Regions from separate parts of the Homo sapiens genome. Here region 2 is linked to region 1. The links are contacts of gene promoters, found by promoter capture Hi-C in blood cells and fetal thymus (Javierre and others, 2016). All regions are on one chromosome and are shown on one strand. Each heading gives the region's core, a stretch centred on a gene start or on the middle of the fragment in contact. The rest is flanking DNA. Distances are from core to core; before and after follow the strand shown. Region 1 holds the start of LINC01181 (long intergenic non-protein coding RNA 1181). Region 2 overlaps DCAF13 (DDB1 and CUL4 associated factor 13).

What was found. The method cuts DNA at HindIII sites, captures the fragments that hold promoters and counts their contacts. A CHiCAGO score of 5 or more calls a contact.
Region 2: a contact is called between a fragment that was not itself captured here and the fragment with the promoter of LINC01181 in region 1, in 6 of 17 cell types (endothelial precursors, megakaryocytes, M1 macrophages and 3 more). The highest score is 8.4, in endothelial precursors.

The regions. Positions count from the first base shown.
Region 1 is chr8:103,118,970-103,123,264 of GRCh38, forward strand. LINC01181 (long intergenic non-protein coding RNA 1181) reads left to right here and starts at 2,063. Exons shown (of 6, transcript NR_145429.1): 1 at 2,063-2,244. RefSeq lists an enhancer at 3,100-3,601. The HindIII fragment of the contact is 1,509 bases long and covers 714-2,222 here.
Region 2 is chr8:103,431,131-103,435,140 of GRCh38, forward strand. It overlaps DCAF13 (DDB1 and CUL4 associated factor 13), which reads left to right. Exons shown (of 11, transcript NM_015420.7): 7 at 1,529-1,611. Among named protein-coding and RNA genes, the nearest start is that of DCAF13, 18 kb to the left of the region's middle. The HindIII fragment of the contact is 1,118 bases long and covers 1,576-2,693 here.

The DNA of each region.
Region 1 (4,295 bases), core at 813-3,312:
AAATTCCAGTGGCAAAATCAGAGAGGAAAATGTTCTATCAGAGAGAGGAAATATTTCCCACCATGTCTGCAGCCCTTAATCCGTGAGGTCAACATGCCCAGCTGCATGGTCTTCTGGCAGAAGTGTTATTGCAGTCATCCACAGCATGCTTCTAGGGGCAGGACTTAATTGAATTTAACAGCAGCTAAATGCTCAGCTAAAAAGAGAAGTTATGGGCTGGGTGCAGTGGCTCACGCCTGTAATCCCAGCACTTTGGGAGGCCGAGGTGGGCGGGTAATGAGGTCAGGAGTTCGAGACCAGCCTGGCCAACATAGTGAAACCCCATCTTTACTAAAAATACAAAAAATTAGCTAGGCATGGTGGCGGGCACCTGTAATTCCAGCTACTCGGGAGGCTGAGGCAGGAGAATCGCTTGAACCCAGGAGGCGGAGATTGTAGTGAGCCGAGATCATGCCATTGCACTCCAGCCCGGGTGACAGTGCAGGATTCTGTCAAAAAAAAAAAAAAGAGAAGTTATGGAAAACTGTGATGCTGCAGTGAAATGAAATCAGGCTGCTATGTGTCAGGCTGCGATGTGGGGCCCTGTGTCCTGAGTCACACACCAAAACAGGAAATCCCCTATTCTCATCTTGAAAAATTTATTAGTAAAATAAAGTAAATAAGACCAAGAAAAATAAGGCTGCTATTATTTGAATCATTTAGTGAAAAAGAAAAGCTTTCTAGAACCAACAGAACATGGTAATGAACACTCTGCCCCCATACTTATCAGTCTGTATTGGCATTTTCTGTGTAACATACCTTTCTTTCCTACTAGAAACAGTTTCTCTAGTTCAGGATCTATGTCTTATTTATCAACTCCCAAAACTGTCCCTTCTTTGAATTCCTTTGATACTTAATACCCAAGTCACTCATTTGGCATTTATGTTACCTTGTATGGTCTATTGTATTTCTATTCTGTTTATACATAGTGACTCTTGAACTAGACTATAAACTCCTTCGAGGTAGAAGTCTTGCTTTGAACATTTTGTGTCCCCATTTGTTATTTGTTGAAAACAAGGCATGCCAAGGAAGGTGCTAAGGGCTGGATATGGGATAAGAGACCCTGGTCTACCTTTGGGGATTCACAATCTGGGGAATTTCCTCAGGCAGGGCACAAAACCTATGAGACAATCCTGCTTTCCTGCTGAACTTGGACCTGGGACAGGGTGGGGATGGGTGAGGCTGGAGCTGCTGCAGCAGCGTGCCTCCAATGCCTATAAATTTCCTGTTGGCTCTCATCCGTCTGGGCTGAATTTTCTATCAACCAATAGAAAATACAGACAGGTATTATGAAAGAGGGTGTTAGGAAATCCCATGCAATTATTATACATGTCACAAATGTGTGGGTGCATATGCACCTGTGAGTGTGTGACAGACAGAGAGGGAGGAAGAGCACTAGGAGGAAATGCCATCTGAACTGAATCTTGAAAGACAAACGGGAGTTAACGAAAGATGTTCCTGAGAGAGTGGCAGGTCTGTGCTTGCATCCTGATGTCAGAGTCAGATAAACTCCAGAAGCCTCAGGGCCTCTGCACTCTATCCCAGTGCTTCCCCAAACTCCTGTTGAGGGCAGACTCTTTTAGAATATGTTAACGAATGGATGTGCAGAAGAAAACTATCTTCTGAGAACAAAATTGCTCTAGTTTCTGCATTGCTGGTTTTCTCTGAACCTTTAATATGCTGATAGGCACTCAACAACAGAATCCTTTGTTGGCAGAGCACAAATTACCCTCTGTCTGTTGAACAGTTTCAGAAAGTTTATGAAGCACTTTTCAATGAGGTGTGGAGTAATAAATGATTCAGCAACACTTAAGTCCTGCCACCCTAGGCCTAACTGGTTACACTGTCATGAAAATTTACAAATTACATGGTACCAAAGACAATATAAACACAATCTATTGGGTAAACAATTGCATGATGGATTACTGTAGACTTATCAATAGTTATGGCATAATTCAGTCTTTATTTTTGCATATGAAAGGCTCTCACGCAAGCATTTTTCTGTAGCTCATTGGAATACAGTACAGATGGCCTGGATCAGTGCAATGTGCAACAAGAGGACTATATCGTCTCAGTAAAAACCTTGAAGAGATGAACCCATTTCAGAGACCCAGCAAGGGATCACCTGCATATACAGGCATCAGCAGAAACAGGAATTTGGGATTTATCCTGGAGGTAGTGGAAGCTTTTGGAGGTCTTAACCAGGTGAATGCAATGATTGGGTATATTTTAGAAAGCTCATTCACAGGGAGAGAGGACTTGAAGCGGGGTTGTTACTAGAGACAAAGAAACTAGTTAGGAAGTTATTTCAGGTAATGAGGGAGACATAATTTAGGGGCTAAACCAAGGAAGTGACAATAGGAATGGAGAGAAGGCACAGCTTGCGAAGCATTTAGGTGGTAGAACTGATTGACTCAGCTCTGAGGCAGCTGTGGGGGTGAGAAGCTGGGGTGGGTGAGGGTGGGAAGAGGGTGGGGAGGGTTGGAGGAGTCAAGAATGAACCATGACTTCTGGTTCGTGCAACAGAGTGAAGAGCTGAGGCCCCATGGTTTCCAGGCAGCCTGTGCCAGTGAGAGAAATGCAGAATAGAGTTTGATTTGAACTCTGGCTCTGTCAACGACTTGGTACTATGGCCTTGTGCAAGCAAGTTAACGTCTCCAAGCCTTACTTTTATCTTTTGTAAAATGGGACGATGATACCCCGCTCTTGCATGTGTGAAATAACTAACACATAGTCTGTGCTTCAGAAGTGAAGTCACTGCTACTCAGAGAACACAGAAGGAGAAGCAGTTTACAGAGAAAGATGAGTTTCATTTCAGAAACACTGCACTTGAGGTGGCTTGGACAGCCATGTGGAGGTGTCCAGTAAGGCATTAGATATATAGGTATGGAACTCAGGAGAAAGATCTGGGCTGGAGAGAGTTCTAGGGGCCACTGACTTTTTGATATTAGGCCAAGGCAAGGAGGTAAATGAGAACAACCAGAGAGAGTGTGGAGAGGGAGAGAAATGCAGGCCCTAACGGACGGCCTTGGGAGCATCACCATTCAACAGCTGAGGAAAGGAAGCAGAGCCGGCAAGGGAGATGTTCTGGAGCCTGCAGGGCTGTGCAGTCAGAAGGAGGCGCAAACCAGAATCTGAAGACGCAGGTTTGAGTCTCAGCTCCCTTGCTGACTAGCTGTGTGATCCTCGCAATTCAGGTAACCTCTGTAAGCTTGTCTTCTCATTCGTCAAATGGGAATGCTGCTGATAATGTCTACTTCCTGGAGACTTTGGTGAGCTAAGGTGTATAATTTTTTTTTTTAAGCTAGAGAGCCTTATAAGTGGTTCCATGTGGTCATTTTTTCCCCCTAGACTGAATCGGCTTACATCTAAAAGCAAGGTCACTTTAAGAGGGTCTCTGTGACTCTGGCCTTGCTTGCTCAGCAGGAATTCCAGCCTGCTCAAATTCCTCTAGGCAGCTCTGGGATCCCTGGGCAGGAGGTACAGTACCTGATGCCTGAGTGCCCCAAACCCCTTCCGAGGAAACGGGGCCTTAAGCACAGGCCCTCACGTTGTCCCACTTGACTTCACCACCCTGGCTACACCTGGTGGGAATTGGGATGGGCCCTGTTCCCAGGGGAGCTGACCAGCTGACCAGCCGACCAGCCAGCAGCTCCCCACGTCTGCCCGGGGTGAGACAGGAGAATACGGTCTGGAGGCAGGGAACATAAGACTGATTCATGCTGACTTCCTAGAACTAAATCAAATGGAAATACTTCAGCTATTACAGGAAATATCCTCACCATTGACACAAGGCGTAAACCCAGTAAATGTCTTTGTAACTTTACTTGATCCTCTTCATTTACACAGGGCGTACACCAAGTAACCAATGGAAACCTCTAGAGGGTATTTAAACCCCAGAAAATTCTGTAACAGGGCTCTTGAGCCCCTATGCTCGGGGCCACTCCCACCTCATTTTCAATAAATCTCTGCTTTTGTTGCTTCATTCTTTCCTTCCTTTGTTTGTAACTTTGTCCAGTTCTTTGTTCAAGACCCCAAGAACCTGGACACCCTCCACTGGTAGCAAGGGGGCCATGTGATAGAGATCCTGCCCCTCTCCTGTATGGACATTTGGACTCAGCAAGCGAGGCCAGAGTCACAGAGACCCTCTTAAAATGACCTTGCTTTTAGATGCAGGCTGATTAGTTGCCAAAGCCCAGCAACTGGCAGGATGGGAGACATGGTGACAGTGTCTGGGTGGCTCATGGAGCCCCTCA
Region 2 (4,010 bases), core at 885-3,384, 310 kb after region 1:
TGCTGATCAATACTAGTTTGACATTTAGGCAACCACTATCCTGTTCAAAGTAACAGATTTCCTAACAATTCTAAAGTAGTAATTTCAGGACTTACATATCAGAGCTAATAATACAACTTAAGCTAACTCTCAAGAGGGAGACAGATACTGTCTGTAAGTAAGGAAAGGAGTGCCATTGTAAGTAAAAGGGTATAAAGTTTATTTCAGGTACTAGAATTTTGAGTGACAGAAAGGGCTGGACATCATTGAGATGCCACAAGTCTGTTGTCGTAGTCCACATACAAAAGAAATGCTTTTAATACTTGCTTTTGTTATTCCTAAATCATTTTTATAACGTAACAACTAGATATTAGGAGAGTACATTCATTGAAGTTTGAAGTAGATAAATATGATAATCTTTCCAAAGTACCACTTATATGATTTCACTCATTCATGTGATTTAATGGGAAGATCCTATATGAACTTTGGTCTTAGACTTTTAAGCACGTTAACCTAAAATGTGTTTCTCCTGTAAGGTGGTGGTATTAATAACTATCTCGCAGCACTTCGCTGAGAATAAAACATGATACTTTAAGCATTTAGCAGAATGCTGACATGAGGTACTAGTTTAATGAATAGTCATTTCTGCCCCCTCCCACCTACCTAACACTCATTCTGTTTTTTTTTTAATTTAGTTTATTTTTCATTGTTATTGCCTCCTGCTTTGCACATTCTCAGTTTTTAATGGAGCTCCATTAATTTTAGGTTGAAGAAAATGTAGCCTGGCTTTCAAGGTGCTCTGAAATCTGGTTCTAATTTGCAACTCATTTATTTCTTTTAGTCAGTTAGGTAACATTGAATTGGAGTTTGTCACATGCAGGTCACTTTGATAGATGTAGGGATTGTTAGACACTGCTACTTTCTGTTGCTTCTTTGCTCCATCTACTAGTCTATCAATGTTTCTTTTATCCTTTCTCTCATAAATGTAGTAGTTCTTAGTCAGGGATTGTAGTCCCCTACCAGGTACAGTTCTGGGAATGCAAGAGGGACATGTAGTGGGAGGTCCCTGAGTGGCAAAACATCCTACAGTGGATAGTCATACACAACAAAAGATAATCCTGCTCAAAATGCCAACAGTGTTCCCATTGAGAAACACTGAATTACTGATCCTTCACAGGTCAGTTCAAATCATACTTGTCTTTAGAAACAGTTCTTTATGTTAACCCTAAGCTCACCATTAATTTTGCCCCTAATTTGATACTTAGTCATTTGTTACTTTATTGTTTATATTTTAACTTTTATTATGTGTCACATTTTTCTGACTAAACTGTAAGTTGTTTGAGATTAGGAGACTGGGAGTTAAGCATTTCTATTTTTATATTTACTATTCTGCCTGTGTATTTAAGAAGCAATTACTGATTGATTTCTCTTCCCATTGCACTGAGCTGAGTACTTTACACATAATAGGTGTTTATGAAATATTTGCTTAAATCAGTGGGGAAAAGAAAAGGAAAGGAAGTGGGAAATTCATCCATTCTTCCTTTCTCAGGTTATCTTAGATATGAGAACAAATACAATCTGTTGGAACCCTATGGAAGCTTTCATTTTTACAGCAGCAAATGAAGATTATAAGTAAGTTTCCCTCTTTTAAAAACTTGTGTATTTCTATCATGAATGGCTTAATTGTATAAGTCGTACTAATAAAATATATACCACTAGGTAGGTATACCTATAAAGTTTGAAAACTGTCATCTGTTTAGCTTTAAAAAGTTTTCCAAATTGGAGAAGAACTTCTTAGAAAAGTATTTATTTCGTCAGTATTTAGAATGATGTAGACCAGGGACAGTAAACAACTCGTGGACCAAATCCTTTCTGTTGCCTGTTTTTTATAAAGTTTTATTGGAATATGGCCACACCCACTTACTTATTTAGATATTGGATATGGCTGCTTTTGTGCTATAATGCCTGAGTTGAATAGTTGCAGCGGAGACCTTATGGCCCACTTGCCTGAAAATGTTTAACATTTGGCCCTTTACAGAAGAAGTTGGCTGATGTTTGATGTAGGTCTTATAAATAATGACTGAACCATACATGTTTTAATGGAAATGAAAATATCTGCCTGCAATGTTTGTATTGCGGTGAGTATCAGGTAGCTGATGCTCATGTGGTCATGTTATCAGCTATCACTGTTCAGTCAGATGGAAGAAAAATTATAGTTATCTTTTCAGTATCCATATGAGGTAGGTGGGACATGCATGTTATCCCCTTTTTAAGATATTAAAGCGGGGAGATTAGTCTCCCAGGGAGGAAAGAGTATCTTATCTTTTTTTTTCCCAAAGCATTTATTATAGCGCTATGCCTTTGATAGATTCTTAATACATGTTTTTTTTAAGAAGGCAGAAGTTTGTTGGTGGATTGAACTTTAGATCTTTGTATTGTTTTATGTTCCACTATGTAGATTTGGAAGCAAAAAAGTAGTAGTGTTAGCTCATAAAAGGATTTATTATATGATGTTTTAGTGGTACCAACTAAAAGCATCTTTTATGACTTTCTGCTAAAAAGAGGTTTAGTCCAGGAGTTTGAGGTTACAGTGAGTTGTAATTGGGCCACTGCACTCCAGCCTGGCCAACAGAACAAGACCCTGGTGTCTTAAAAAAATAAAAGAAGCTCAGTTAGACTCTCATTAACTAGCAATACCAAACCACAGTAATTGAAGCTTTTTTTTTTAACCTTTATTGATGTTTTGAAATTAAGTGGCATTGTTCCAGTTAAAGGCAATAAAAGACAAGAGTAATACAGCATTATTGTGACCAACCTCATTAAGATTTCTAAAGAATGTTCTAATAAGCTATTTTAGCAAGGTACCGTTTTTCAGAGTGTCCTCGGAATTTCTCATTCCTTGCCTTGAAAAGAATTGCATATGCCACCTGAAACAAAGAGCATATCCCTTATAATAAGTGACTGTTGGAGTATCATAATTGCTCTTTGAAAATGATCTTGCTTTTGTATCCCTTTTCTATATTTGTAAGTATTTTTTTCTTTTATTGCCCTTTAGATATTCTAGTCATTCTGAATTAGAAACCTAAGTTCAAGTCTAGGCCGACCAGTAATTACTGTATAAACTTGGGCAAGTCATTTAAACTAACTCTATATCATAGTTTCAGCATCTGTAAGGTGAGGGTTAGAATAGATGATCCCTAATGAATCCTATAATGTGGAACTTTGTTTATTTAAAGGTTTTCCATGTACACAAATTGATATGCTTAGAATTGGAATTCTTATCATTTTTCCCATGTAGAAATAAAGCATCTTACTAAAAAGCAGTTTGCTGGAACCAAGCAAACCTAGCTGAAAACCACTGTTCTTAGGCAGGAACTGTAAAGCAGTTGTCAATGTCTTACTACTAGTAATGTTAACCTTGATCATTTGGTTAGGGTGGTGTCTGCCAGGTTTCTCCACTAAAGAGTTACTTTTTTTTCCTTTTGTAATTATTATATATCTTTGGGGAGATACTTTGAAACTATGTAGATATCCTCTTCTCAGACTTCTACTCACTAATCTTAGCATCTTCAAGTATTTTTATATTAGGAACTTGGTCACAATATTGCTGTATTACTTTTGTCCATTGTTCATGTTGGTTCATTTGAAGCACTATTCTTTTAGCCATTAGATTAAGAATTTTTGAATCTTGAAACTCATGAAGTCATTGTTTTTACCAATTGTGCATAAAGTATAGTTTCTCATTTTGATTCACCCTTTGAAAGGCCATGTTCACTCTTACATATCACCAGTAGGAGTATAAATTAGTGCAACTTTGTTGGCAGTGATTTGGCAACTCAAATCAAGCCTAAAAATGCTCATGCCTTTAAGCTTAACAATGCTACTTGTAGGAATCTGTCCAGATTTAATTGAACCTGTCCCATTCAGTTAAAGATTGAATGTTAAAAATCCAAACGTTGGGAATTTAATAAGCATTATATATAATAAAATGTTGGAAACTATTAAAATATAGGGAAATAAATTATTTGAAC